7 separate regions of the Homo sapiens genome follow, and regions 2, 3, 4, 5, 6 and 7 are each linked to region 1. Evidence: promoter capture Hi-C in 16 types of primary human blood cells and fetal thymus (Javierre and others, 2016). All regions are on one chromosome and are shown on one strand. Each heading gives the region's core, a stretch centred on a gene start or on the middle of the fragment in contact. The rest is flanking DNA. Distances are from core to core; before and after follow the strand shown.

Region 1 (3,042 bases), core at 1-2,500:
GGTCCACTGCTGGTCCTGCACAGTCGCCACTCCCCCCATCCTTCCTGCTAGCCCCGCCCTTCTTGCTAGCCCGCCTGGCCCTGTGTGCTTTCTCGACCCACCCCCGTTTGCCCTGCCCCGCCCACATGCCCCGCCCCACTTGCCCGGCCCCTCTTGTTGTCCCGCCTAGCCCTGCTGCCCCGCCCCGTCCCCCTCGCCCATCCCCCCAGTTCCGCTGCCCCGTCCCGTTCCGCTGCCCCGCCCCTCCAGTTGCCCCACCCCCTTCCGCTCTCCCTCCCCGCCCCGTTCCGCTGCCTCGCCTCGTCCGGCTCTCCGGCCCCGCCCCGCCCCGTTCCGCTGCCCCGCCCCGTCCTGCTCCCCCGCCCCGTCCTGCACCCCCGCCCCGCCCAGTTCTGCTGCCCCGCCCCTCCTGTTTCCCCGCCCCATCCCGCTCCCCCGCCTCGCCCCGTTCCGCTGCTCCGCCCCGTCCCGCTGCTCCGCCCAGTCCTGCTCTCCGGCCCCGCTCCATCCCGCTGGCCCGCCCCGTCCCGTTCCGTTCCTCTGCCCCGCCCCGTCCCGTTCCGTTCCTCTGCCCCACCCCGTCCCGTTCCGTTCCGCTGCCCAGTCCTGCTGGTACTCACTAGGTAGTAGCGGCAACGGACGCCATGGGGACCGCCTCGTCGCTCGTGAGCCCCGCGGGCGGGGAAGTGATCGAGGACACGTACGGGGCGGGCGGCGGCGAGGCCTGCGAGATCCCGGTGGAGGTGAAGCCCAAGGCCCGCCTGCTGCGCAACTCGTTCCGCCGAGGCGCGGGGGCGGCAGCAGGGGCCGGGCCCGGGTCGCTGCCCCGCGGGGTGGGCGCGGGCGGGCTGCTGGGGGCCAGCTTCAAGTCCACTGGCTCGTCGGTGCCAGAGCTGGAGTACGCGGCGGCCGAGTACGAGCGGCTCAGGAAGGAGTACGAGATCTTTCGCGTCAGCAAGAACCAGGAGTTGTTGTCCATGGGCCGCCGCGAGGCCAAGCTGGACACGGAGAACAAGCGGCTGCGGGCCGAACTGCAGGTAACGCCGGGCTGGGCCGCGACGCCGGGAGACCCTTGGGAAGCACGGCCGTCCTGCTCCCTCTCCAAACCAAGCGGCTTTGAAAGTTCGGCGGAAACTGCCCATTTTAATTTGAGAGGCCATATTCTCTTCGAGTCTGAAATGATTCCTTAACCCTCCCCTTTTTCTGTCTCTTTTTTTGGAGACAGGGTCTCGCTGCGGTGGCACGATCGCGGCTCACTGCAACCTGGAACTCCTGGGCTCAATGATCCTCCCGCCTCGGCCTCCTAAAGTTCTGGGATTACAGGAGTGAGCCACCGCGCCTGGTCCCCGCTTTTCTATTTCTGGTTTATTCATTGAGGCACCTAGAAGAAATTAGCCGGAAAGTGTCCTGAGGAGGCAAATGCCAATCTCCAGCTCCACTGCCGCCCCCGCGCCCACCCCCTCAGAAGGCTGGTGACATCTGTTGAAGCAACTCAGCAAACTCTTCCTAGGAGTTTCACCCCCCTCCCCACCATAAAAATTTTAAGTGGGTCTCCAAAGTGGGGCTCAAGTGTCGGTTTCTTTGTAAAGTTTCATCGCTCTTGCATTTTAATGGTCTTGACATGAAAATTTCTGGAAGCCTCCTGATCTCACCATGGTTGAAAACCTTCTCTAGATGTAGTCAAATTTCCCTAGTCCATTTGATTAATTTACGCTAAAAGCAATTATTGCATGCCCTCCATGTAGCAGGTCCATTATAATTCAATAAAATAGTATGTAAAGCAGCCGGGCGTGGTGGCTCACGCCTGTAATCCCAACACTTTTCGAGGCCTAGGCGGACGGATCACCTGAGGTCAGGAGTTCGAGATCAGCCTGGCCAACATGGTGAAACCCCGTCTCTACTAAAAATACAAAAATTAGCCGGGCATGGTGGCACGCGCCTGTAATCCCAGCTACTCAGGAGGCTGAGGCAAGAGAATTGCTTGAACCCGGGAGGCGGAGGTTGCAGTGAGCCGAGATTGCACCATTGCACTCCAGCTTGGGTGACAGAGCGAGACTCCGTATCAAAAAAAAAAAAATAGTATAAAGCAAGAGGTTGCTTTTCTGTGAACGAATCTCTAAAACTTTTTGCCCTCAGTTTGGGGCCCCTCTGGTCGTTGTTGTGTCGTTTGTGTACTCTTTACTGTGGGAGAGACTTATAGGCAGCCTAAGAGTTCCCGGAGTCGTTACAGTCGGGGTGAAATAAATACCTCAGACTGATTTTTCTAAAAGAAAAAAAGCCTCCTGTCTTCAAGACTAGACATTCTTCTAGTCAGGTTTTGTTGTTGTTGTTGTTGTTGTTTTTGTTTTTAAACTCCCTCATTAGCTGTTGTGTAATTATTGTCGTTGTCTGGGAAGAAGTCCGTGTAGCAGTTTATCTGTTGTCTTATCAGTTTTCCTACTGGGCAACCTTAATGCACTTGCATGTATAAAATGGACTAGTGCATTTCAAATATCTGATTCAATGTATCCAAGCCACTGCCCAACAGACACCGCACGTTGGAAACAACTGTGAGGTGGGGGTAGAAAAGGCCAAACCAAACAGGGCGGAGTGCAATAAGGGTTGGCAAGTGTCACAGTCACTCATGTCACCAATCCTGATTCCCTGTGAAACATACTGGTTCCTTTCTCACATATCGAGGCATGAAAAAACTTATCCATATTTATTTCATTCATTGTGTCAGACATTTACTGGAGACTTGCAGTGTACCAGGCACTGTGAAGTGCTCAAGGGATGGTGAGATGAATAAGACATAGTGCCAACAGGCACACAGTCTCTTAGAACTACTTATCCTTCAAGTTAAGCCTTACAAAATGTAATTTTTACTATCACAAAGATGGAAAAGGCATAAGGAAGTTTAAGAGCTGATGCAGTGTTTCAAAAAAAGTTAATTTCCATTGAAAGCTTAATGTTGGTCTTTATTTGTGGTAGTTCAAGCATGGTTGCGGTTTTTTTCCATCATGTTTTGAATAAAATGGCAACATGAAGTTCCTGATAATTGGT
Region 2 (4,363 bases), core at 682-3,181, 2.0 Mb after region 1:
TGATTGGGAGTTAACTTTCGTAGAGTAGTTTGTTTCAGGCAGAGGATGTTGCCTATACAGAAGCTTAAAGACCAGAATATGATGCACTGATGTGTTTTCTGGAACACAGTGTGAATTAAGCAAGGCCCAAACTCAGCCAGATCAGAAAGGGTCTGGCCTGACTGGAGCATGGAGAGTGAATTTTGCAGGGGAGCTACACAGAAGACAGGAAAACAAGTTAGGAGAAAACTGCCACAGTCCAGGTAAGATGATTGTGACCGGCTTAAGATTGTGGCAGAGTTGGAAGGAGTGGAGAGAAGTGGTAATGCTTAAGAGATAATTAGTAGATAGAATTGTTAGGATTCTGTCATTGGAAGGTGAAGTCACAGGAACTTCTCTCGCCCACCAAACTGAGTGGATGGTGATGCTGGTCCCTGAGACAGGGAGACACAGGAGGAGCAACAGGTTAGGTTGGGAAGATGATGAGGTCTGTTTAAGATATGGTAAGTTTGAGATTTCTGCCAAGTATGCAGGAGAAGATGTACAACATGTATTTGGTTATATTTTTATTTATTTTTAATTTATTATTATTTTTTAGAGGTAGGATCTCACATTGTTGCCTAGGTTGGTGCCCAGTGGTGCAATTGTAGCTCACTTCAGCCTCCAACTCCAATGATCCTCTTGCCTCAGCTTTCTTTGTGTAGCCGGGACTGCAGGCGTGCACCACCACACCCAGTTGACTTTTTTTTTTTTTAACATTTTTGGTAGAGACTATTTTACTGTGTTGCCCAGAATGTTCCTGAACGCCTGAGCTCAAGCTGTCATCCCACCTCAAGTTTCCAAAGTATTGGGATTACAGGCATGAACTACCACACCTAACCCAGCAGTTGGTTATAAATTTTTGGGCATAGAAATCTGGGATAGAGATGGAGATTTGGGAGTTATCAGGAAATAGGTAGTAATTGTAGCCAGGGAAAGGTTGTACAGAAGTGATTCTGAAGCTTTTTTGGATACCCTTAAAAAATTTAATGAAATCAGTGGACTCCTTCCCCAGAAAAATGTACCATGCATTCATTCCTATATATTATTTCACATACACAGACCACATGAAGCTGAGCTATGGATTCCAGATTATTTAAGAATTTGTGGGATAGAGAGGAAGAAGTGTGTTGAGAGTGGTACTCTGATAGACTTCAAAAGAAATCTGGCATCGGTGCCATTTTTGGTAAATTTTGTGATGGTTTGGCTTAATTTTTTTCTTGCTTGTAGGTTTATTACAAAAAACATAAATTGAGCCAAATTTTAGATTATTTAGGAAAATTAATTGATGAATGAATGTATTTCATCTACCAGAATGAATAATGTTATTCAGGATTGCACCTATGTTGGTCTATTCAGCTCACTAATCTGTGTCCCAAGATAATACTGAGAGATGTTTTGATAAGATAGGGTTAGCCTCAAGGTTGTAAATACAGTATAACAAGGTTAGAAATGTAATCCATCAAAGTTCCAGTTTTGTTGATCAGTGTATTAAAATTTTCTTGAACCATTTTTACATTTTAAACTCACTAATTGTTATGTAATCCTTTAGCTTAGGAATTGCGTCACTTTCAAACTTCAGGGGATCATTCATAGGTTTAAAATTTCAGTGGTTGATAAGCTTATTTTTATCCTTTTTTTGTGCATTATAGTTTTGTAAACTTCAACAAAATTCACACTCAGCATTTATTTTTCCAGACCAAAGAGCCTTACATTGTTTTGGCTGAAGGTAGGCCCTTCCGTTCCTTTGAAAAAGAGGTGGGTGGCATCTGTCCACTTCCCAGTGCTCTTAAGATTTGAATGTTTGGGTTTTGAGTGCTACTTTCCCCTCTTGATGGATATCCATGGTTCCAGGCTGCTGGTTTGGGAGAAGTGTTCAGCGAGTCCTGACGTCCTTGATAGGCTCTTGGAAACTGCTACTTTAAGTGAAACAGTGTAAAGCAGGTCCATCAAATAATGTCGTTTTCATTATAATGAAATGGTGAGAAAATAAATGGTTTTGTTGTACGTTGTTGTACTTAAAGTTGCAGTTTCCAAGAACCCATCGATACCGTTGAGGACTTACCATATATATTCTGCCTCTGGTCCAGTACATAGGCATAGCCTTGTGTGCTGCAGATCTTTCATTCATTTTGACATGCATTTGAGCATATTATGTGCAAGCCATTGTTACGTAGGTGCCAGGAATACAGTTGACTAAGCTTTTGCCATTATGGAGCTTTCATTCTAGTGGGGAGAGAGATAGAATAAACAAGTAAATAAGAAAGTTAATTTTGGTTAGTGATGTGTTATAGCCAAGCAGAATGATATTGAAAAGGCTGGTAGGGCACTACTTTAAGATAAAATGGTCAGGGAAGGCCTCTCTGATGAAGGTAACATTTGAGCTGAGATTTGAATGATACAGACTCAGTGATGATAGTGACGATTTAAACAAGTTGTTCCACAGGGAAATACCACCCAATAACATCTTTCAGAATAAAATCGTAAAAGTTTTGAGAAAATAAATATGAATTCACTGCTGCATTAGTTTGTTAGGGATGCCATAACAAAATACCATAGAGATGGTGGCTGAAACAAGATTTATTTTCTCTCAGTTCTGGGGGCTGGAAGTCCAAGATCAAGCTAACAGGGTTGGTTTCTTCTGAGACCTCTTTCCTTGGCTTGCAGATAGCCATCTTCTGGCTGTGTCCTCATGGGTTTTTCTCTGTGAATGAGCATACATGGTGTCCTTTCTTATAAGCACGCCAGTCATATTGGATTAAGGGCACACCCTTATTACCTCTTTAACCCTAATTAACTCCTTAAAGGCTCTGCCTACAAATACACTTAGATTCTAAGGTATGGAGATTAAACATATGAACTTGCAGGAGGGGAGGCAGGGGGCACTTGACACACAATTCAGTCAATAAAACCTCCATTTAGTTATAAATAGTCATATGTCACTGTGTTTTTTTCTGACTTTATTTGGAAATACTGTAATTTCAAACTTGAAAGCCTTAAAAACTTACAGACTTTTAAACTTGCAAAAATAAAAATAGAACAAAGGAACACCCATATACACTTTACCCAGATTCACCTATTGTTAACATTTTGCCCTGGTTGCTGTATCATTGGTATCGTTTTCTTCTTCCTCACGCCCCATTTTTTCCCTAACCTTATGAAATAAGTTACATATATTATGGCCCTTTACCCTGAAACATTTCAGTGTGTATTTTTTACTTTTTATTTATTTTTATTTTTTGAGACAGAGTCTTGCTCTGTCACCCAGGCTGGAGTGCAGTGGCGCGATCTTGGCTCATTGCAACTTCCACCTCCTGGGTATCATGCTGCTGCCTCCTGAGTAGCTGGGATTGCAGGCATGTGCCACCATGCCTGGCTAATTTTTTTGTATTTTTAGTAGAGACAGGGTTTCTCCATGTTGGCCAGGCTGGTCTTAAACTTCTGGCCTCAAGTGATCCGCGCCCCCTTGGCCTCCCTGAGTGCTGGGATTACAGGTATGAGCCACTGTGCCCGGCCTTCAGTGTTTTCTAAGATGAGGTATAGTCTGTTACAAAACACAATATAGTTAATGGCTGCAGTAATTTTAACATTGATACAGTAATTACACTTTTTATTCTAATTTTGTATTTGACCCAATAATGTCTCTTATAGCATTTTGCCTGTTTCAGGACAGGACCTTGTTTAGGGTTCAGGTATTACATTTAGTTGTCATATCTCTTTAGCCTCCTTTAATATTTCTACAGCCTTTTTTTCTTTTGTTATTATCACATTGCCATTTTTTGAAGAATGCCTCCCCCCACTTAATTTTTCAAAATCATTTTTATACATTTTAGTTTGAAATTATTGTAGAATCAAAGGAAGTTGCAAGAATAGTGATGTATCCTTCACCCAGCTTCCCCCAATGATGACCTTTTATGACTGTTGTACCATATCAGAATCAGGAGTTGCCATAGGTGCATTACTGTTAACTAGAGTATAGCCCTTACTCAGTTTTCACCAGCTTTTACATGCATTCTCTATGTCACCCACTCCTTTGTTTTTTGATAGGATGTTTCTCATTTTGAGTTTGTCTAATGTTTCCTCATGATAAGATTTATGTTATAACTTAGTAGGAATACTGCATAGATGGTGATGGATTTTCACAGGGTCACATCTGTAAACAAATGATGGTTGTTTGTGATGTTAATTTTAATCATCTGGTCAAAGTCTTCCCAAATTGTCTCCCCTCTATAGTTTTTTATTTTTTTTCAATCCCTTGCAACTAATAACCTGTGGGAAGAGTTTTAAGATGTGCAAATATGCTTGGTGTGGTGGCTCAAACTTGTAATCCCAGCACTTTGGGAGG
Region 3 (4,363 bases), core at 516-3,015, 1.8 Mb after region 1:
GAAACCTAGATGAAGGCAGGTAAAGCAAACATGCTGCTAGGGAAACACTAAAAATAGATGGCCAAACAAAATCTAGTGAAATGCCTGCATACAAAGAGAGATATAAATCTCATATATAACATATACAAATAAAATCACAGCATCAAAAGGCTAATTTATTTATACTACAAATGAAAAAGGCTCCGATTTAAGATGAGAGGAAATCCAGGACCTGGTTCAAAGTTGGATCTTGCCCTTAGGCAGAGAATAACAGAACGTTTATGTACTAATGTACTAATGCTCTATTCTTTTTAACTTCAGGACACCATAACCAAGATAAATTTCTGAAATTCACAACTTAACCAAAACTTTTAATTTTTACTTTGCGTGTTTAAATTTTCAAAAAAACACATTTACATATTCAAAAAAAAAGTCTGATGAGTGACATCCTAAATATTTCCACTTATTATTTCTGAGTTTTCCTATAAAAGGCTGATGGCAAATATATTTATTATTTAGGGTCCTGCTTTTTCCAACTTTATCAAGCTGTTTTAAGTAAGTAAATAAATAAATGAAAGTAATTTCTATAAGGATGCATCAATATCTCAAAGCTTTCTAAAAGAATAAAGAATGTCATACTAAAGCTGGGCACGGTGGCTCATGCCTATAATTCCAACAATTTGGGAGGCCAAGGCAATAAGACTGCTTGAGTCCAGGAGTTCAAGACCAGCATGGGCAATATATCAAGACCTCGTCTTTAAAAAAATTAAGAAATTAGCTGGGTATAGTGATGTGTGCTTATAATCCCAGCTACTCAGGAGGCTAAGGCAGGGAGATCGCATTAGTCCAGGAGTTAGGGGCTTTGGTGAGCTATAATGATGCTACTGTGTCCCAGCCCAGCCTGGGTTACAGAGTGAGACTCCATCTCAAAAAAATAAATAAATAAATAAGCACAAAGGGAAAAAAAAGGATGTCATACTAAATTAACGTATTTCCTTCTGAGGGAGGGACACGAGTTTAGGTCAGCATGTTTACGAAATGACCAAATGTCAAACCAAAAGGCCTTTACTTAAGAAAGCAATTACAACTAACAGGTATATTAAATAATTCCAATTCACACATTCTCTAATACCTATAGCAGAATTAAAAAAAGCAGAGATAGAAATTGAATCAGACACCCAGTTACGGCCATCTTAAGATAATGCTTCTGACCCCGACTATTACTGTCTTCTGTCTATAATCTAGGACAGCTTTTCAACATTTCATTCAAACTTTTTCTAAACACATCACAGGTTTAGTCTAAACCAACCTAATTTAACACAATTGGTGTAATTTATTTGTAATTCTACGATTTATACTTTTGTCGTAGCAACTTAAAGCCTGAAGACAGAAGATACACAGTTGACTCTTTAACAACATGAGTTTCAACTGTAAAGGTCTACTTATACTCAGATTTGCTTCTGTCACCCGAGACAGCAAGACCAACCCCTCCTTTTCTTCAGCCTACTCAAAGCGAAGACAATGAGGATGAAGACCTTTATAGTGATCCACTTCTGCTTAATGAATTATAAATATATTTTCTCCTCCTCATAATTTTCTTGGTAAGTTTTTTTCTCTACTTTATTGCAAGAATACAGTATATAATACATATAGCATACAAAGTATGTGTTAATTGACTGTTTATGTTATCAGTGAGGCTTCCAGGCAACAGTAGAGACTATTAGTAGTTTAGTTTTCAGAGAGTTAAAAGTTACATGCAGATTTTCAACTGCATGGTGGGTCAGCACCCCAACCCCCACATTGTTCAAGGGTCAACTGTATTAACAAATGCATATAAGTAGCAGTCATATACATCCAAGAGGAAATTATCAATTTAGCCTTTTTTTTGAGAGATCCTTTCTTTCATGAAATGATGGCATTAACCTCAGGATGCACCCTTTACTGCCTTTTACCAACATTTGTCTACATGAAAAGCATAAAGATAACCTTGTCACAACTGATGCCTGAAACCATTATTAAAAAGAATTTGTTTCAACAAAGTAAATGTGAGGGGACCTCTTGAACTGATCCTTAAGATATTTTAAGATGCTACATGTAACAACGGTGTAATTTAAAATTCATGCTAACTTTACCATCAAGCCACAGTGTTCCTGGCACCTTTAAAACAAAATTTAACCTTGCAAAACAGATCATGGCTAACTAAGATCTCCAAAATCAGTCCTGGGCCCCTAGGGGTGTGTTCCCTAGGAAACTATTTTGTTTCATAATGCTTTGCGTTAACAGACCTGAATTCTGCTGACTTTAAATGAATGACAAAAATATGAAGACAAATCAAGTATTTGGAATCCAACTGTCAGAAGGTTATTGCATACAAGTACTCTCTACAGCATCCTCTGGCTTAAATTACTACAGTTTACAAAATGTCATATATATAATCTCTTTTAGTTTCAACTCTTTTTCAGAGTACTAATTAAGACTATCATTTTATGGACAAAACTGCAAACAACATAAACTATATTTCCCACACCCAAAGATATATTTTTATAACCTGGTTTCCTATTTTCAGTTAAAGGAATAAAATTAAGGTGGCTTCTCATCCCTTTTTCCCTATAGCTTCTCCAACTATAGTAATGCAATTTTTTCTTGAGACATTCCTAGCTGATTAACAATTTGAAATTGAATTAAGAAACTGCTTTTAAAAGTAAAGTGTAAATACAACCATTTTCAAACAAAAAAGATTGGGGCATTGTTCTCTACACCTATTAGCTCTGTCTATAATCTTAAATTAACCATGTCCTGAAATCCTGAAGACTATTACATTTCTATCCACTAGTCAAACATTTAAGGCTATATTAAAGTTTCATGTGTATTAAAGTCACACTGAATTTTCTATGGGAAAGGCCAAATTTATTCCAAAAAATAAATCCATTACTAGAAAGGAAAACCTATGTGCAAGCTTCTCCAGCTAGACATATCTTTTCTAGTAAGCTATCACTTTAAACATGCAATTAACTTTTAAAAATCAGGTAAGAGCTGTTTACTTGTGCATCTCAAGATGCCTAAGCGGGATCTGTTTAGATTTGTGATAAACATGTAAAAACAAATTCCAAAGGATCTGGATAAAATCCTAACTCACGACTGAATGTTAAGTAGTCCAAAAATTCCAGGAAATTAACATTTTAAACGTTCCTAGTGACAAGCAGAAAGTGTTCATGAAACATCCTGGAGTCTACAGCTAAAAATTGGTCAAGCTTTGCTGAGAAAGTTTAAATGGGCCCTAGGAAAAAAGTCCAGAAGAATCTAAACCGAAGTGCCAAAGAAAATACCACCATTGCTGAAGGAACCAACACATGGATGAAACCATTTCCTCCCCACACCACTGTAAGCTACCTAAGAAACCTTCATGCTGATGCTCTAGGGAAACACTATCAATTCTACACTGTTCACACCCACAAATGTAACTACCTGCATACCTACTGGAGGATACTCTTACTAGGGAACAGCAGCATCACTCAATTCATCCAAGTTAACTGTATGTCAAACATTGCTCTGGCGGCTTCATTTATTACTCACATCAACTTTGCAAGAGGGCATTATCTCATTTACAGATGAGATAACTTAGAGGCTGAGAAAGCTTAGAAGCCTAGTAACTTGTCAGATTTTTCAGGAGAGGAAAACATTACTTGTCGGGCTTCAAATCCAAACCTGTCTCTTTCTGTACTGGACCCTGGCTTCTTGGTAGAGCCCTAACTTTTTCTGTAGGCTTAAAAGCACTAATGCCATAGAAAATTCCTTACCTAACTCCACTTATCCCTCAACTAACAATGACAACTTCATTTTGAGCATTTGGCTACTACTGTTCCCCCTTCCAACATTTAACTGTCATGACAATATTAATGCCAGGTGGCCTATTAGTATGTATCAAACATTCAGCTAGGCAATTTATAATTAACATTTACCGAGCACTTACTATGTGCCAGATACTGTTTGAATGTTTACAACAACCTCATAAGGTAGGTTCTATCATTATCTTTATTTTATGAAGAAACGGAAGCACAGAAAACTTTAATATGCACAAAGCCAAATGGTAAGCGACGAATCCAGCATTCAAATCAGTCTGCATGGTTCCACCACAACTCAAGCTCTTAAACGTTATCATTCCTACCTCACAAGAGAATTTATACAGGGTTTCTCATTTAATCCTCTCAATTCTGTGAGTTAAAGATTATCAATCCCAATTTATAGATGAAGAAATACAGGCTCAGAAAGGTGACGTAATTTACTTAAAATCACACAGCTTTAAGTGGTTCAAGACAAGTTAGTCAAGACTTGAATCCATTTTTGTTTCACACCTCCAAATTGTTAATACTACACTATATCAAAG
Region 4 (4,363 bases), core at 1,113-3,612, 1.7 Mb after region 1:
AGATGTCTACATCTGTGAAGTCATCCTACAATTAAAATAATCAATGTATCCATAACCCCTAAAGTTTCATCTTGTTCCTTTGCAATTCATGCTTCCTTGAGTATAAACACAGTAAAGTGCCCAAATAATCGTACAGCATGATAAATTTTTGCAAGGTCTATACATCCATGCAAAGAAGATCCAGATGAATCATTATCGCCACCCTAGAAGCTTCTCCTAGTGTCTGGTTCCAGTCACTCGCTCTGCAACTCTCTATAATCACTCTCCTGTTTAACAACACAATAGTTTTAACTGAATTATTACTTTAGAAATGAATTCTTTCATCTGGCTTTTATTCCACATGAGATTCATTCACATTGCTGTGAGTAGTTGATCATTCATTTCTCATTGCTGTAACATTTTTCTATTTTGGTATATTACCATTATACACTTAAGAACATTTTTTTTCATTACACAGCTTATGAGCATTTGGGTTCTTTCCAATCTTCCATTTCCATGTGTTCATTAGCCATGTGATACTCTATTATATGAAGTTTCTGTACAGTTTTTTGCTCATTTTTATCATATACGGGTCCTTTGTCAAATAACATATTGTGAATAGTCTCTCCCATTGTTTATTCACTCTTTAGTATGTTTTGATGAACAGAAGTTCTTAATATACTCTAATTTAAATTTTTATTATTTATGGTTACCACTTTTGTGAACTGCTTAGGAAACTGCCTACTCCACGGTCATGAAAATGTTTTTTTGCTGTTCACATTTAGATCTATAATGTATCTAGAATTGGTTTTTTGTGGGTGCGTATGGTGTGAAATAGGGATCAGGATACCTTTTCCCCCCACATGGAAATCCAACTGAATCCATGAGTATAGCAGGCTGCTTATATTCCTTGCTAAGTAGAGATGACTTAAGTGTTCTCATCATTTACCTGGATTCAAAATAGAGTGAAATTTTAGTTCATTCTCTGCGCTCTGCTATCACCCAGCTTTCTCTTGGCATAAACTTATCAATTCTGAATTTAGCTCAGTGCTAATGGTTCTAATTAGCCCCTGAAAATTATAAATGTACCAGGTGCTCATGTGATTCCAAACACAAATGCAAGTACAAGTATAGAAACCTTGTGATAGTACCTATTCATTTTGTTTTTTAGATCTTGTAATACATTATCTGCTTTGGCCAGCTGTTGTTAATAAAAACTTTATAGTCTCTCATTTAATTCCCACAATAACCACATGGGATAGGGTTTCATTTTGGTTATGTTAGTTGCAATGGACAGAGCACCATTCAAGTTAACCAATGGGAGGTTAATCATAAGGAGACACAAAAGTGGATCATTCTTAAGGAGTAAGGCAGCCAAGACCAGTCTCTCTCTGGGCATCTCTGCCTCTCGGGGCAGCTGCTTCTGCAGGCTTGTGCTTTCGCTCCCCCTGGGGAAGAGGGAAAGTAGTTGTCACATGGGATAAAACCTAACTAACGTTAAGGGCTGTGAGTTGAGTACTTCCCCTTTTGGAAGGGACTGTGGACTGGTGGGTTTGATGAAACATCTTATACAAGTCATTATAATGACCATTTTACAGATAAGTCAGACAGACTGTAGAAAAGGTCAGAAACCTTTCGACCAAAGCCATAGGGTTAGTGCAGAGCGGAACATCTCTGAAGTCAAAGCCCAGACTGCTTTGTTTATGAAAAGTTGTAACTTGGCTCTATAATTCAGTAATTTAAATATATATCAGAAAAGAGTTGGTGTATTTTCTTAGCTCTACTTAGTGCATTTTAAAAACCAGTTTAAGAGTTTAGTTTCCACTTTACTTAAAATTTAAGTAGTTAAAACTACTTCCAGTAGGGGTAATTGGTTATACTATAAAGTTCTTTGCATATTTCTAATTTTAAAATTTGTATCACAATATTATTAAAAGCAGTATTTAGAAATAATCGTACTATTTAAAGTTTTCATGCATTAATGATAAAACTATTTTGTCATTTATGATGTGTTTTGTTTCAGGTTAATATCTTTAGTCTCAGCTGTCAACCACTCTTTCTACTAACTAGATGTTACATGCTGAGAAATGTTATTACCATCTCAACTTTCCAGAAAGCAGAAAATCTTTTTCTGGCTGTGTGCAGACACTAGGAATACAACTTTTCTTTTTCTTAAAGTTTGATTATAAAGTCCCCCAGAAGATGACCTTTTAATATTCCTGAGTGCATGACCTGTAAGGTCCCCATTCTGGTTCTTACAAGGTCTTGGTAATTCATTAAGGTAAAATTATTTCAACAAGAACCTCAGTGCTCTTATAGCTGTTTTACTTCTGAGCTTTTATTTGAAGTACACGCTAAACCATGAAGTAAAAGTATGGCGTGTTACTCCAAGCACAATGCAAGTAGTCCTTAAAATATTCCTATCTCCCTTGAATATACCTCTAATCTACAAGCAGCCACCCTGGGACAATCCCTGTGTGTCTTTTATGCAAAGACAATAAAGCATTCAACAGGGAAGGGACATGAGACAGGACCCAAACAAATAGAGTATATGCCACATAGGGTTCCTAAAAGCAACGTTTGTCTTCTGGAGGCAATTAGTAATGGCATCATGCTGAAGGCAAATGCCTGTTGCACAGGCACATACAGGTGGTGTTGAGTATACAGCTTTGTTTCTCAAAGTAGAATACTTGGGCTGCTAGTTAAAATGTATATTCCTCCTGGGCTCTCTCTCAGATTAGTCAATCAAAATTTATGGAGTAGGGCCTAAGGATTGAATTTTTAATGAGCTTCCCAGGTGACGTGCACTGAAGATGCTCACCAGCGTATACAAAGAGGATGGAATGACATAAGTAAAGGTGTAGGAGTAGGCAGTACACCCATTCAACCAACCATATTTATAAAGCATCTTATTAATGTTCTAAATGCTGTGAGTGTGGCTGATTTTTTTTCCCACAAGAAGATAAGTTTAACAGCTGACAGAAGTTTCAGTAGCATTAAATCTCTTCATGCTATGGTGGAAAAAAGAAATAACAGACATTTCCCAAAGTAACTTGCAGGATACTTGGTGTGTATTTTCAGCTCTCCTTGAGGAGGCGGCAGATGCTTCTGTTAGAAACCCTGAAGGTGAAACAGACCATTCTGGAGCCAATCCCTACTTCACTGAAGTTGCCCATTGCTGTCAGTTGCTACTGGTTGCAGCACACCGAGACCAAAGCAAAGCTACATCATCTACAATCCTTACTGCTCACAATGCTAGTGGGGCCCTTGATTGCCATAATCAACAGCCCTGGTAGGTAACTGGAAATTACAGGAGTATATTGTGGCATGTTGCTTGCAAACTGTTTACTCGAGTTTACACAAACAAAAAAGTATTCTTGGATTATTTACTCCCATTAATTGTATCACAACTTAGATGTGGAGGCACCAAAATATCATTCATTCATTGGTAAATATTTTTTAACACTTCATGTGCCAGGCTCAGTGCTGGAGGGCTTGAATCTTAAGTATACAGCAGTGAGATGTGTTGGGGTACTGCCAACTTCCATCTGTTTGGTGGCACCTACTCCTTTAACTTGTGAATTGTGACAGTGTATTTTGCCAGCTGCATTTTGTATTCCATGTTACCTATCCAGTTATTAGCACAGCAGCAACGTCATCACAAGAAACTTGCCCAGAAGTGAAACTTATCTAAATACCTACAACCACTACATTCTTGCTTATACATCTTTTTATTCCTTTTTCTCTGCTGTAGGTTTCAATTAGTATGTAAGTAGTGATGGCAGAAATAGTAATTTGTCCTTTTTTTTTTTTTTTTTTTTTTTTTTTGAGATGGAGTCTCACTCTGTTGCCTAGGCTGGAGTGCAGTGGTGCAATCTTGGCTCACTGCAGCCTCTGCCACCTGGGTTCCAGTGATTCTTCTGCCTCAGCCTTCCGAGTAGCTGGGATTACAGGTGCCTGTCACCGCGCCCAGCTAATTTTTGTATTTTTAGTAGAGACGGGTTTTCACCATCTTGGCCAGGCTGGTCTTGAACTCCTGACCTTGTGATCCACCCGCCTCAGCCTCCCAAAGTGCTGGGATTACAAGCATGAGCCACCGCGCCCGGCCAGTAATATCTCTTAAATACACTGAGGCAAGTTCATCTGCATATAATACCAGGTGAAGTAAATGCTGAAACACTGGGACACTTTAATACTTCAGTGGAATATCCTCTTTAAAGATTATGAATGCTCTAACACTGTATAAACATGCATAATAATTATACTCTGGAATAGTACTATCTAATATGGTGGCTACTAGCCACACATGGCCAAAGTTAAATTCCATTTAAATTAAAAATTCAGCTTTTCAGTCACACTAGCCACACTTCAAGTGTCAGGTAGT
Region 5 (4,363 bases), core at 595-3,094, 1.5 Mb before region 1:
GGTTTGGTTGTTGAACCCACTACAAATGATCTTTAAATTTTCTTAACTAATCTCATGTCTTACGTATTTCTTTGTACTGGAAGGAGTGGGAGGGGGGGAATGGTTCTCAATTTTAATGATCATGTTTTTAAATTTTAGAATCTTTTTCTGTTTCCATTTCATTGCATCTTATTTTATGGATGTATTATCTTTACTTATCTCTGATGTGTGTATTTTTATTTTTTCTTTGTGTTTAATATATTTTTAATATTTCTTCTGTTTCCTCCAGTGTGGTTATTCATTTCAGGGATCTTTTCTTTGTTTGTTTAAGTCATAAATATCTGGTGATCCTTGACTGTCTATAATGAAGAAAAAGATCCTGAGGAGCTGATTGCAGAGGAGAGAACATGTGTGTATTGGTGGTCTAGTGACTTGTGAGTTCAGGTGGACTTTTCATTGGGAGTCTGCCCCGAATATCAACACCTTTACATCTCGTTTGGGGCCAGTGTTCACAATGAAGAAATCATCATCTCCTGCCTCTGGTATGCTTGGTGATATGCCAGCTGCCAGGGTTTGGGTTACCTGGCTGAGGGAGGGATGGAGGCTGTAGCCTTCGACTTCTGGCTACAGTTCTCCTGTCACTGTGATTCAGTTTCTTCAGAAAAAACTTTGGGTTTCCTGCTGGAACTGGGGATCCAAAAGCTTTGAACACCTCTTTCGGTGGCTCCCCCCTTGTCTAGGCTAAGCCTCACATCAGCCTTTGGCATCTCCTTGGTGCCTCAAGACCTGAGCCTCTTGGAGGTCCTGAGGGGCAGTGACCATTCCTTCAAGTACTTTGCCATCTTGCAAAAGTTTGTTTAAAAAAGCATGTTGTCTTTCCTTTTCTGTTTGTCCTTATGGTTTGATGTCTTTGTGATTTTTTTTTTTTAAACTATCATTTTAGAGGAATTTTGGAAGGAAATGGAGGTAAGGGATTATGGTCATTCCACAATGTGTAAATGGCAGTTAGGGTTTGGGTTTAACTATTGAAGATGACGTGTGGCAGTCTTTTTATATGAACAATATTACGAGTAGTTAATGGTGGTTGTAGTAGTAGTTGACACTTTTAAAAGTGCTGTCTTTTGTCTGTGTGGGGCATAGAGGTCATCCCTGTGTTATGTACTGTCATTTCCATTTTATAGATGAGTGTTAGTCTGCTCAGGCTGCTGTAACAAAGTACCATAAATTGGGTGGATTGTAAACAACAGAGATTTATTTCTCACAGTTTTGGAGGCTGGGAAGTCCAGGATCAAGGCTTTGGTAGATTTGATATCTGCTGAGAGCCCTCTTCCTGGTTTATGGATACTGCTTTCTCCCTGTGTTCTCACATGGTGGAAGGGGCAAACGAGCTCCCCTGGGTCTTTTTATAAGGGCTCTAATCCCATTCATGAGGACTGCTCTTATGAGCTAATCACCTCCCAAAGGGCCCTACCTGCTAATACCATCCCTTAGTGGTTAGGATTTCAACATAGAAATTTTGGGGTGACACAGAGAAATGAGAAAACAATAATCTTAGAGTAGGTATGTATTAATGACTAGCCTGGTTTTTTGGTAGTAGTAGGGCACACGGTCCTGATGGAAGTGTATAAGTTCTGAAACACCGAAAGCTTCAGAAGCTTTTAAACTCTGGTTGGCCTTCCTGTGTTCCTGGGCCCTGGTTCATCGCTTGCATTTACAAGCCTGTTACTTGCATAACAGGCTGCAATGTAGGCATTCATTTCTGCATTTTACTGATGAGGACCCTGATTCAGGGCCTTTTGGACAGTGAGTAGAAGGCCAGGTCTTGACTCAGTCCTGCCTGAGACCTGAATTCATACTGTCTCTTTATCAGCTCTGGAGGAGTGCAATTAACCAAAAACTCAAAGAGTAGAACCGCAAGCCTCCTGCCACAGGTGCTTGTTTGTGGTCTTTATTATTATGCTAATTATTCTTGCATCCTCCCATGTTCTTTAATTGATAATTTTCATTGTACTGAGCTCTGTGGAATTCCGGAGCCTGTGAAGGTGGCATATGGCTGGGCAGTGCCAGAAGCTTGGGAAGAACATGCTGGTGGGTGGGTGGGGAATGGTATAAACTGGTTATGCCAACAGTGGTGGTGGTGATAGGGGTCAGGGGGACTTTTGGGAAGAGGCCCCATCTCCCACCAGTTAGAAATTAACTTTGGATAACTTGCTTCTCCTCTTAAAATAAATATCTTCTGGAAAAGTCAAGAATGTTCACATTTTATTTAAAATCAAGTCAATACTAGTTGAAATCACTGTGTCCCAAATCAGTCCAGAAAATTTTTTTGAAGCTAAACCAAGTACCATATATTGTGGTAGAAAATGACAATTCAAAATTATTACACTCCTTTCCCTGAAGATCTCAGAATTTTGTAGGGGAGACTTGCATTTATGACTGTAACAGAGATAAGAGTTATATTGCTGGTTGACATAAGTTATTGTAGGAGCACTTACTTTTGACTGTGGAAAGGGCGGAGGGGAGACAGGCTTAGAGAGTTTAGGAAACTTGTCCCAGGGAAAAAAAAGACATTTGAGCCTCATCTTGAAGGATGAATTTGATAGGCAGAAAAGAGCAGTTCATACCAGGCTGAGAAAGTAGTGTGAACAAAGACATAGAGGGTGGAAGCAGCTGTGTGAAATTGTGGGGTAGGAAAAATCTAATGTGGCTGAGGTGAAAAATTAGCAAAGCCATGGAGCGCCACAGGATAAAGCTGGAAGGTAGGCTGAGGTTAGAGTAGGAATTTGAACTCTTACAGGTGAATTCTTCAGTGAGCTGCTAAAGAATGCAGACTAGGAGAGTGCGCAGTCAGGTCTGGGTTATAGGGAAGATAACTTTGGCCCCAGTGAAAAGGATGGCTTTGGAGAATGAAATGCTGGATCTGGGAAATGAGATAGAGCCAACCTTGTGATGATAAGAGGGATCAACTAAGGCAGTTGAAGGGGTGGGATGGATTTGTGAGGAATTTGGTGAGTTTGGAGAAGACTTAGTAGAAGAGACTTTAGGGCTAAAGAAAGGGGAGGAGTCACAGAGGAATCTAGGGTTTCAGATTTGGGCAACTGAACCAAAGGACCCTTTCCTTTTGGGAGAAGTGGTTGGTCAAGGGAAAGAAAAAGGAGATGAACCATGTATTCCTCTCCTCCCAGCACCCCTCTCTCCTAAATCTCAGAGCCCATGCTTGGTGGGGAGGAGGGGTGGAGGGTTGAAGGTGTCCTCTGCCCATGAGTCTGGCATAACCTGCCAGAGGGCCCAGATCCTGGGTGGGTTTTTGGGAGGTTAGCACTCTGCAGCAAATCCTTAACCCTAGGCGTTTTGGTGGAGTTGGTATTTATTTGAATCCATGTGTTCTTCATTGGGAGACAGGCAGAGACATTGTGCAATTGTGGGTTTGAGGGTTGTTTTTTTTCCTCATGCTACACATGTGAGAGAACTCTATCCAATTATGGCTAAACCTGTCCCCTGTGAGTCACATCCTGAGTTGACTGGTCAATTCCAAAGGTGCTGCCTAAAATGCTGTTTGGATTTTAAGAATCACTTTTGGGACAAATCAAACATGTGAGTATTTATTCAGGCACCTGAGTTGAGAAGTTCCATAGCATTACTTTTGGTGTTTTGATGCAGTTACGCCAATGTTCTGAAAAATCTTGCCAGCTACACATCCTAAAGCAAAACAAAAACTTGTACATGAAACAGAACCATTAGCTACTCTAAAATTATGTCACACTTAAAGGTATACATTTTTGTGCGTTGTTGATGTAAATCAAGTGCAATATTTTCTAATAAAAATTTTATTAAACAGCATTCATTTGTGAAGGTCCTCTTAAAATGTGCCAAAATAAACGTGTGTGTATTGCTCAGTTACATAATAAACAGTTGTTGAATGATTCTTTTTGTGTGTTCAGCAGTGATAATGCTGAGTGGATTTCATAGGTCTCATTCTTATCTTTTTTTTTTTTTTGAGACGGAGTTTTGCTCTTGTCACCCAGGCTGGAGTGTAATGGCATGATCTCGGCTCACTGCAACCTCTGCCTCCTGGGTTCAAGCAATTCTCCTGCCTCAGCCTCCTGAGTAGCTGGGATCACAGGCGTCCACCACCATTCCCAGCTAATTTTTGTATTTTTGGTAGAGATGGGATTTCAGCATGTTGGCCAGTCCAATCTTGAACTCCTGACCTCAGGTGATCCACCCACCTTGGCCTCCTTTCAAAGTGCTGGGATTACAGGCGTGAGCCACCTTGCCCGGCCTCATTCTCATTCTTATATAAATTTTAAGCTGGAATAGACAGCACACAAGTCTCTAGTTAGGGATCACCTGTAATTTAGGGAGGAGGAGGAAGAGCGTATCT
Region 6 (4,363 bases), core at 1,275-3,774, 1.5 Mb before region 1:
AAGCTTCCATGCATATATGTATATATACATCTTTCAACAGCTAACATACCACCTACTTTTCTGCAGTTTGCAGAGCACTGAACAATATCCTGGTCAAGGATCTCTGTCACTTGATACAGAGTTGTACTTTTTCCCCCTTCAAATGGCTGTATTACTTATTATTATATAGTTGTACTTTGGTTATTGATCAGTTCCTGTGAGGAAATTAAGACCCAGATTTGGAAAGGGATTTGCTTAAGGTAGGAGAAGTAGGGTTAGAGGAAGCAGAAGGTAGAGATGACCTGAAATGGGAAAGTCACACGTGAGGGCAGGGGAGGCTTGATGAAGGGTTTGTCACCTGATCATTTAACCCTGAGGTGTAATCATGAACTTTCAGAAGGAGGGCCGTGGCTCTCAAGCTCTAATACTTTATCAGAAACCCTCGGTTCTTGCTTTTTAAGGTTTGCCAGAAGATGAAATATTTGCTTCCAGAGATCTGCAGGCTCCCTGATATGTGTCGGTTCAACATCGTAGATACTTTAACATTAGTTTCACATATCACAGCTTCTGGTAATACTGTTTCTCAGTGTTTTCGCCATTTTGTCTTGCCACACAGATTGTGGTCTCTTCAGAGGCTTGAAGCTGTCTTACTCTTAGCGCATAGGTCACACATGCCTTAGTGAGTGGTCAGGAAAGACCATTGTGTTAATTGCATTTTGAGTTGGGAGTAGAACTCTGGTATTGCTTCTTTTTCACAAGACCACACACTTAAAAGCAGGCTACTGAGAGGCTTTAACAGATAGTTTCTTCTGTATTCCAGAACATTCCCCAATATCCAGGAGAAACATGTAACTGTGTCTGTTAAGTGTCAGTAGCTTTTTTTTTTTTTTTTTTTTTTTTTTTTTGAGACAGAGTCTCACTCTGTCGCCCAGGCTGGAGTGCAGTGGCGCTTTCTCTGCTCACTGCAACCTCCACCTCCTGGGTTCACACCATTCTCCTGCCTCAGCCTCCTGAATAGCTGGGTCAACAGGCGCCCGCTACCATGCCCAGCTAAGTTTTTTGTATTTTTAGTAGAGACAGGGTTTCACTGTGTTAGCCAGGATGGTCTCAATTTCCTCACATCGTGATCCACCCGCCTCAGCCTCCCAAAGTGCTGGCATTACAGGCATGAGCCACCGCGCCTGGCCGTCAGTAGCTATTTTAGATATCTGAAAAGCGAAAATTTGCCAGAATGTAGCAGAATATTCCCACTACCCACCCTTACCCCATGGCTGTTCTGTGCTTTCAGGAATTCGTCATCATTTTCTAGGAGTTGCAGGGAACTTGTCCAGAGTTCCAGCAGGCACTGCTGGAGGCCAGCAGCTGTGTCCTTTGCAGAGTGAGGTTTCTATGAGAAAGGCATTACTTCTAGTAAGTTCAGAGAAATTAAAAGGCTATTTGGCTGTAGACAAGTGTATTCACTTTAAATCTGTACTCTCTGTGTTCCAGAAGGAAATGGCTTTACTTACCAGCTTCCTATTTGTAATTGCCATTTGTTTCCAAGTAAGGGAACATAAGCAAAAATGTTTATTTTTCAGTTTATTCAAATGTTGATATTTTTGGTAATTTGTTTCTTTTTTTTTCCTTTCCTTTTATTTTCTTTTTCTTTTTCTTTTTTTTTTTGAGACTGAGTCTCACTCTGTCACCCACACTGGCGTGCAGTGGTGCGATCTTGGCTCACTACATCCTCCGCCCCCCAGGTTCAAGTGATTCTCCTGCCTTAGCCTCCGAGTAGCCGAGTAGCATGTGCCCACCACCATGCCCACCTAATTTTTGTATTTTTAGTAGAGACGGGGTTTTACCGTGTTGGCCAGGCTGGTCTTGAACTCCTGGCCTCAAGTGATCCACCTGCATTGACCTCCCAGAATGCTGGGATTACAGGTGTGAGCCACCACGCCTAGCCTGTAGTTTCTTTTCTGAAGTATTTTGGCTCACTCTACATTCTGATAAACAACTGCTGTTCAAATTTCTTTGTCCCAGTAGACTGTACATTTAACTTTTGAGCAGATCTGTTTCTTTAAAGGATGATTGGCAAGTGAGAGTCCTTACAGATCGATACATGCCAAACTAGAGAAAATTGGACTTCAATAATTGGCAATTTCTTCTCTAATCCCAGAAACTGCAGTTTTAAAATTTATATCTTAAAGACTGCAGAGGGAAAAGAGAACTACCTTGTGAATGCCTCCCATTTTTAGACAGTTCCTCAAAAAAGGAGCCAGCAAGGAGGCTTCCACAGTTTCATGCTTCATATTCCTCTAAGCTGCTGATAGGACCAAAGGGGCTGCCTTCTCAAATCTCCTCCTCAGCCCTTTGCACCTCTCCCTGTGCCCTCATTGGCCAGCTACACTCACAGCCTCATTTCCTTCCCTTCTCTCCTCCTTTTCACCTTGCCACACTGAGATGCTCAGGCGCCAGTCTTAGCTGCTTTTTTAACTGCAGTTATGGCCCTGGACCCCTTTGCCAGGCCCTCTCTGCTTACTTTGGGGTTCTGGTCTCTGGTCTGCTCCTTCTCTCCTTGTGATAACTGAGACCTAGAATAAAGGAGACAGCAAGTTTCTGGGGAAATAGTAAGTGTGGCTTTGAATTTGTTAAGTTGGAAGGCTGTAGGATAATTAGATAGAATTGCCTAGTAGGTAATTGGACACTTGAGAGGGATTGAAGGTAAAAGAGAGTGAGAGAAATTGACGATTAAGATATCCCATCAGTGGTGAAATGGGCTAGAACCCTAGTGTACTAGGATTGAAGGATTTACATTTGGAGAGGAAAATGGACCTTTCCTTGGGACTAGAATGAAAAGAATAGATGCTCTAATAGATCTGCCGGGGTGTTGAAAAGAAAGGCAGAAATGGGGTTCCTCTGTACTAGTGGAAAGGGACAAAAACATTGAGTGTGAGGAGGTGGGGAAGGCCTGTAAGGTTGGAATAAGACGAGGGAAAAGAGGGTCAGTGAGGAAGGGATTGCTGAGTAGAACTAAGGGCCTCCCCTGAGACTGGAGGTCATTGTTGTGTAAGAGCTCCTTTTCTGTAGGATGGATTTCCTTCAGCAGTGCTGAGCAGCAGGAGTAGAGTAAGAAGGGGTGGTCAGGATGCTAGAGCTGCCCTTTGAGGGTTTGGAAGGAGTCAACCAGCTGAAGGTGCCAATATGACTGTCAGTAATGTTGCCTTCTTTAGGGCTTGGGCTGTGGAGAACATGAAACTAGGTGTTCACGGCTATACTGGAGAGAAGGGAAGTGGCTTTAACTGGCTGCTGCATCCTGCTATGAACACAGCACCTGGCTCATAAATGTGCCTCATAAATGTTGGCTGACTTGGAGTGATGGAATCAGAGAACTAGTTTTGTAGGAATCAGAGGTGGTGATGGGATCTTTGATAGAATGGCATTTTTGCATTTGTTTTGGTAGTGAAGTAATTCTTTAGCGTGTCAGGATATTGAATACTGAATATTGAAGCCAGGGAGAACATGGCAGGAGACCAAGGCCTCTGCAAGTCCTGTGTGGCTTATTGGTGTTGATGGCATGAGAAGTAGCCATTATGAGTAGAAGCTGTGAGCTTCGGCCGGGCGCGGTGGCTCACACCTGTAATCTCAGCAATGTGGGAGGCCAAGACAGGTGGATCACTTGGGGCCAGGAGTTCGAGACCATCCTGGCCAACATGGTGAAATCTCGTCTCTACTAAAAATACAAAAATTAGCTGGGCATAGTGGCGTGTGCCTGTAGTCCCACCAGCTACTCGGGAGGCTGAGGCAGGAGAATCGCTTGAACCCAGGAGGTGGAGGTTGCAGCGAGCCGATATCACGCCACTGCACTCCAGCCTGGGTGACAGAGTGAGACTCGGTCTCAAAAAAAGAAGTTATAAACTTCAAAGTAGAGGGGATTTGCATGAGGGCATGAGGAAGGGATGTCTGGGAAGGACCTAGTGATCCTAAAGAGTGCCGACCCTACTGTCTAGGCCCTGAGGGTCAGGTGTTGTAGGAACTGAATGATAGGAAGGGGAACAGATGACTTCTGAGGAAAGCCAGGTTGTGGGAGAAGGTGGGAAGACATTTGTGAAGAGGCAGAGAGTGTAGGAGGCTGTTCTGAATAGGGAGGTTCTCAGAATGGGGAAAAAACAGAAGGCCTGCAACAGTGTTCTTGACAGACCCAGGAGGGTTTGTGTCAGAATCCCTGGGGCCAGCAGTGGGCTGATGATTATGGAGAAGTGCAGCATGGCAATAAGGTAGCTGTTCTGGAATGACTGCTGATGCTGCTGATGTCAGAGGAGACTTGTGCCAGGCTAACAGTATGTATTGCATTAATGATCTTATTTGATCCTCATAACATGTATTACCCTTATTTTACAAAATATGG
Region 7 (4,363 bases), core at 1,864-4,363, 1.2 Mb after region 1:
CTAAGAGACAGCATAAATGAATACTAAAGTGGAAATTACCCAACACAAAATTTACCATCTTGCAATAATCCAACTATACAGGATATATCACAAACATTATAAGAGCTAATGGTAGAGCCTAATGGCAGGAACACATATAAAAGATTATTTCCAGTGAACTCTTGCTTTGAAATCTGCTCCTTCTATGATGATTCTCTTGTATTGAACATGGCTTTAGTAATTCAAAAATGAATCTATTCCTAATGTTTTATTTAATAAGAGAAGGTTTATGAGATCATCTGTTGGTCTGAATTAGCGGAGTAAGAGTTATAGAACTGTACCACTAAAAAGAGAAAGTGCAAGTTATCTTCGTTCCAATAAGGAATTGAAATCTTAGAGAGGCAAAATGGCATTACAGTTTCAGGGTCTAAGGCAGTGTCTGAAGGATGACATCAGAAATAACAGGAAGCTCTAGGTCAGTGCCTGACTGCCCTAGAAAAGCCTAGGCTGGGTCCCTTGACAACTGGGCCTAGTAGCTGTCAGCAGCATATTACAGTGACTAAATCAAGTATGACACCACTCAGCCCTGGCTGGCAATCAGGAGACACATTTTTTACGACAGCAGACAAACCATGTTTTACTTTGATTCAGTTCAGCGGTGGTGCCTGCTGTCAAGGTCCTCCTTATGGACTAGGAGATATTTGGTACTATGGGAAAAGGTTAGACCAAATGGCTACCTCTTCAATCCTCACTGACCACTGCGTGTGATTACTTACCGATTTTCCTCTTTAGCCTTAAAGAAATTCCAAGGCAAGAGTAGTGACATATTTGTCATAGAGAGCCAAAGAAACAAAATGTCTAAAAGCATAAGCTCTATCTATGGTCACAGTCTTTGGCTCTACCAGTTAATAGCTGGGTGATTTTATTTAAGTTATGTAATCTCTGTATGCCTATTTTCTTAACTGTAAGATCCAGATAATTATACTATTGTCACAGCAGATTGTCATAACAATCAAGTGAGAAAATACACTGAGAGAGTAAAAATGAATACTATTAGTAACTGGACTGCAGTGTTTATAGCAGAACATCAATACAATATTTCTTTTTTTTTTTTTTGAGACGGAGTCTTGCTCTGTCACCCAGGCTGGAGTGCAGTGGCTCAATCTCGCTCACTGCAAGCTGCGCCTCCCAGGTTCACACCATTCTCCTGCCTCAGCCTCCTGAGTAGCTGGGACTACAGGCACCCGCCACTACGCCCGGCTAATTTTTTTTTGTATTTTTAGTAGAGAAGGGGTTTCACCATGTCAGCCAGGATGGTCTCAATCTCCTGACCTCGTGATCCACCCGCCTTGGCATCCCAAAGTGCTGAGCCACCACGCCCAGCCCATCATTACAATATTTCTTACAGACCGTACTGTAGGCCACACCACTGCAGCAAAATGACTAACAGTTCCTTATTCTGAGTGATTCCTGCTTTCTTATGAACATCATGCCCACTTCCTCTCTGTTCTTCCTGTCTCTAGAACAAAGACTATCAAGATATCCAATTGCTGAACTGTCCTTTCTTCTTGACAGCACCCATTCTAAAACAAGTTCCTGCTTCTCTGATGCCACTTTAAAATCACTCAGCCTTAAGTCCAAATTTCATTTCAAGCCCCTCCCAGGTCACTCTTTTGGAAACATCCTCAGACATATGCTGTCTTTTGCTGCATCAAGCTAATTAAACTTGACTTTGTATGAGTTCACGTTTTCTTCTAGTAGCCTTGGCTTATGGGCTTCCACAATGCTGAGCACATACTCTAGCACACTATATGGATAAGAAATGTTAGTTATTGGCAGTAGTACAGAAATCTTCTTATTCTCAACTTCTTGCATGTAGCACACCTCAAAACATGTTTGTTCAATGAAGAGCCATCCTTAAGTATCTGGGAAGCCAGGCAGCATGGCTAGAATGAAGAGATGTAGTTTTTCCTTCAAGGTCCAAAGTATTATTGAAAAGTGTCTAAGGTAACTGCAACAGCAATGAGTGGAATGAATGGACAAGCAAAGCAAAGATTTTTTAGCCCACTAAAGTCCAAGTAATGGCCAGGAATTGACCATTGTCTGGACCTGTTAAACCAAGATAGCCAGATCTCTAGTAAAAAGAGAAGGTTGAAATAGCTACACTTTAAAGTTCTTATTTCCAAATTTCTACAAACAGTAATCTGACAAATAAGGGAATTAGTAGAAGAATAAATGTCCTAGTCACATACATGGTTATTAGGCTAGATCTGGAACCCAAGACAGGGGATTTTTTGTGCAGGTGTATTAGCTATCTATTATTGCATAACAAATTACCCTAAAGCTTAATGACTCAAAAAAACGGTAATCATTTATTTTCTCTGGCAATTTCTCCTAGTCAGTAATTCATGAGCGGCCTGGCTGGGAGATTCAGGCTTAACGTCTCCATGAGTTGCAGCCGAGGACTGGTGGATCCACTTCCTAGGTGGCTCAGTCATGACTGGCTAGTTGATTCCTCTTTATATGTTCCTCCCTGCAGAGCTGTTTGAGTGTCTGCAGGAAATGAAGGCTAGCTTTCTCCACAGGGAGCAATCCAAGAGACAAAAACTGAAGTAACAATATGTTTTATGATCCAGCCCTAGAAGGCATACATCATTTCTATGGGTGTAGTCTATTGATAACACATGCCAACCCTGTTTCAGTGCCAACTCTGCTCCTCTGCCAGATGTGTTGTTTTGGACCAGCACCTAAATTCTGAGTCAGTTTCCTCATTTATAATAGAAAAATAAATACTTCCTTTCAGGACCGTTTTTTATGATTAACAAATATAGGATTATGAAGCGCTGCTTAGCATAATGCATTGCCTCACAACGGGCACTATTTAGAAGTGTCTTCATTTTCCTTAGCGTCCTCAGGAAGTCTGTCCTTATTCTTCTAAAGTTTAAACTCTGAACATCCCTTTTATTTTACCCCTGGAGAGGCGAGTCAGTCCCTTCCCACCCCTACCTACTCCAACTCACATCCAAAGTAGGACAACGGTGGAAGCAGAACTATAGTTTCCGGGGAGCGACTCGAGTGCCCGGAGTTCATTGTAAAACGCACCGGAAGTGGGTCCGGCGGCTTTCTTTCCGTCGCAGAGAGCATCGGCCGGCGACCGTTCCGGCGGCCATTGCGAAAACTTCCCCACGGCTACTGCGTCCACGTGGCGGTGGCGTGGGGACTCCCTGAAAGCAGAGCGGCAGGGCGCCCGGAAGTCGTGAGTCGAGTCTTCCCGGGCTAATCCATGCCGGGTTGGAGGCTGCTGACGCAGGTCGGCGCCCAGGTGCTGGGTCGACTCGGGGACGGCCTGGGTGCTGCCCTGGGCCCGGGGAACAGGTAGGAAGGTGTGAGGGTGTCCTACCTGCACAGTTGCGTCCTGAAGCAGTGGAATGGCCTGGTGCAGTTGGGCCTCCCCTGGGTGGAGGAGGAAGGGGCTCTGTTGAGACGTGGGACACAGAAGAATAAGGGCCGTTAACCTAAGGAAGCACGTTCTAAGGGGATTGAAGTGGTGATTTTTAAAAAACGCTTATGAGCCAGCCACTAGCAGCGAACGCTATTAACAGCAATCATATCTTACAATTAGTGAGCGTTTGCCAGGTACTAAGCGCTCTGCTAAGTGTATTAGGTGCCTTATGTAGCCTCACGGGAGCAAACTGCTATCATAAGGTTTACAGATAAAACTGAAGGTTAGGGAGGTGAGTTAATTTGCCCAAAGTCACTCAACTAATAAGTGGAAAATTAGGAATCTAGCCTGAATTTATCTGACTACAAAAGGAGAGTAGACTGCAGAAAGCTTTACTTCTGTTCTGACCCTCCATGCAAGAATTACACCCCTTCTTCCTGACCTCCGCCCACTAAGGTCTTTCTTGGTATGTTCACCTGTTCAGAGGTCATGCCTTTTGTGGATCTTTTAACTTTGCACACCCAGTTTCTTCACTTCTCTGAACCTAGGCCATGTCATTGCAGGGAGGAGGTGAGCTTGTTAGACAAAGATCAACATGCCACCTTCTGCCACCTCCACTGAATGTAAAACTATTAAGGTACACTTCCAAATGGGTTAGTGGCTTTTCATGTCTATAGGTAGGACTGTTTTTTGGGGAATATGTTTATCTGCGAGGAGAAGATGAATTTTTTTCTCCAGGGTAACGACTAACAGTTTAAATGTGAGCCTTATCCGAAGGAATGTGGGGAGTGAGGAAAAGGTTGGAGACCTGAAAAAAAGGTATACAGAATCCAAGCCCTTTCCCAAGGCCCTGACTACACTTTCCAATTTGTGACTTCCCTTTTCTATATTAAGTGGAGGAAGTTTTTAAATTGTGGTTTGGTTTTATTTATTTTTTCTTTT

Evidence for each region. The method cuts DNA at HindIII sites, captures the fragments that hold promoters and counts their contacts. A CHiCAGO score of 5 or more calls a contact.
Region 2: a contact is called between a fragment that was not itself captured here and the fragment with the promoter of NPHP3-AS1 in region 1, in 1 of 17 cell types (naive CD8 T cells). The highest score is 5.4, in naive CD8 T cells.
Region 3: a contact is called between a fragment that was not itself captured here and the fragment with the promoter of NPHP3-AS1 in region 1, in 1 of 17 cell types (neutrophils). The highest score is 5.8, in neutrophils.
Region 4: a contact is called between a fragment that was not itself captured here and the fragment with the promoter of NPHP3-AS1 in region 1, in 1 of 17 cell types (activated CD4 T cells). The highest score is 6.8, in activated CD4 T cells.
Region 5: a fragment that was not itself captured here is called in contact with the fragment with the promoter of NPHP3-AS1 in region 1 in 1 of 17 cell types (naive B cells); the score reaches 5.2 in naive B cells.
Region 6: a contact is called between a fragment that was not itself captured here and the fragment with the promoter of NPHP3-AS1 in region 1, in 4 of 17 cell types (naive B cells, total B cells, activated CD4 T cells and 1 more). The highest score is 7.6, in naive B cells.
Region 7: the fragment with the promoter of MRPL3 here is called in contact with the fragment with the promoter of NPHP3-AS1 in region 1 in 4 of 17 cell types (naive CD4 T cells, activated CD4 T cells, naive CD8 T cells and 1 more); the score reaches 8.7 in naive CD4 T cells.

What each region holds. Positions count from the first base shown.
Region 1 is chr3:132,719,958-132,722,999 of GRCh38, reverse strand. NPHP3-AS1 (NPHP3 antisense RNA 1) reads right to left here and starts at 1,250. Exons shown (of 11, transcript NR_002811.2): 1 at 621-1,250. NPHP3 (nephrocystin 3) reads left to right here and starts at 591. Exons shown (of 27, transcript NM_153240.5): 1 at 591-1,037. The coding sequence starts at 645. NPHP3-ACAD11 (NPHP3-ACAD11 readthrough (NMD candidate)) reads left to right here and starts at 541. Exons shown (of 45, transcript NR_037804.1): 1 at 541-1,037. RefSeq lists silencers at 75-584, 685-934. The HindIII fragment of the contact is 4,122 bases long and covers 1-2,945 here.
Region 2 is chr3:130,739,626-130,743,988 of GRCh38, reverse strand. The region is part of intron 2 of PIK3R4 (phosphoinositide-3-kinase regulatory subunit 4); the gene reads left to right. Among named protein-coding and RNA genes, the nearest start is that of PIK3R4, 5.0 kb to the left of the region's middle. The HindIII fragment of the contact is 580 bases long and covers 1,642-2,221 here.
Region 3 is chr3:130,896,620-130,900,982 of GRCh38, reverse strand. The region is part of intron 2 of ATP2C1 (ATPase secretory pathway Ca2+ transporting 1); the gene reads right to left. Among named protein-coding and RNA genes, the nearest start is that of ATP2C1, 4.7 kb to the right of the region's middle. The HindIII fragment of the contact is 2,345 bases long and covers 593-2,937 here.
Region 4 is chr3:131,017,414-131,021,776 of GRCh38, reverse strand. ASTE1 (asteroid structure-specific endonuclease 1) reads left to right here. Exons shown (of 6, transcript NM_014065.4): 4 at 3,061-3,271. Among named protein-coding and RNA genes, the nearest start is that of ASTE1, 7.2 kb to the left of the region's middle. RefSeq lists a silencer at 1,437-1,546. The HindIII fragment of the contact is 4,299 bases long and covers 213-4,363 here.
Region 5 is chr3:134,241,919-134,246,281 of GRCh38, reverse strand. All of the region lies in intron 1 of RYK (receptor like tyrosine kinase), which reads left to right. Among named protein-coding and RNA genes, the nearest start is that of RYK, 6.8 kb to the left of the region's middle. The HindIII fragment of the contact is 415 bases long and covers 1,637-2,051 here.
Region 6 is chr3:134,213,314-134,217,676 of GRCh38, reverse strand. All of the region lies in intron 2 of RYK (receptor like tyrosine kinase), which reads left to right. Among named protein-coding and RNA genes, the nearest start is that of RYK, 35 kb to the left of the region's middle. The HindIII fragment of the contact is 5,038 bases long and covers 6-4,363 here.
Region 7 is chr3:131,501,721-131,506,083 of GRCh38, reverse strand. It overlaps MRPL3 (mitochondrial ribosomal protein L3), which reads left to right and starts at 3,113. Exons shown (of 10, transcript NM_007208.4): 1 at 3,113-3,354. The coding sequence starts at 3,263. LOC105374114 (a long non-coding RNA gene) reads right to left here and starts at 3,485. Exons shown (of 3, transcript NR_189111.1): 1 at 3,380-3,485. RefSeq lists enhancers at 3,215-3,284, 2,791-3,477. The HindIII fragment of the contact is 1,488 bases long and covers 2,326-3,813 here.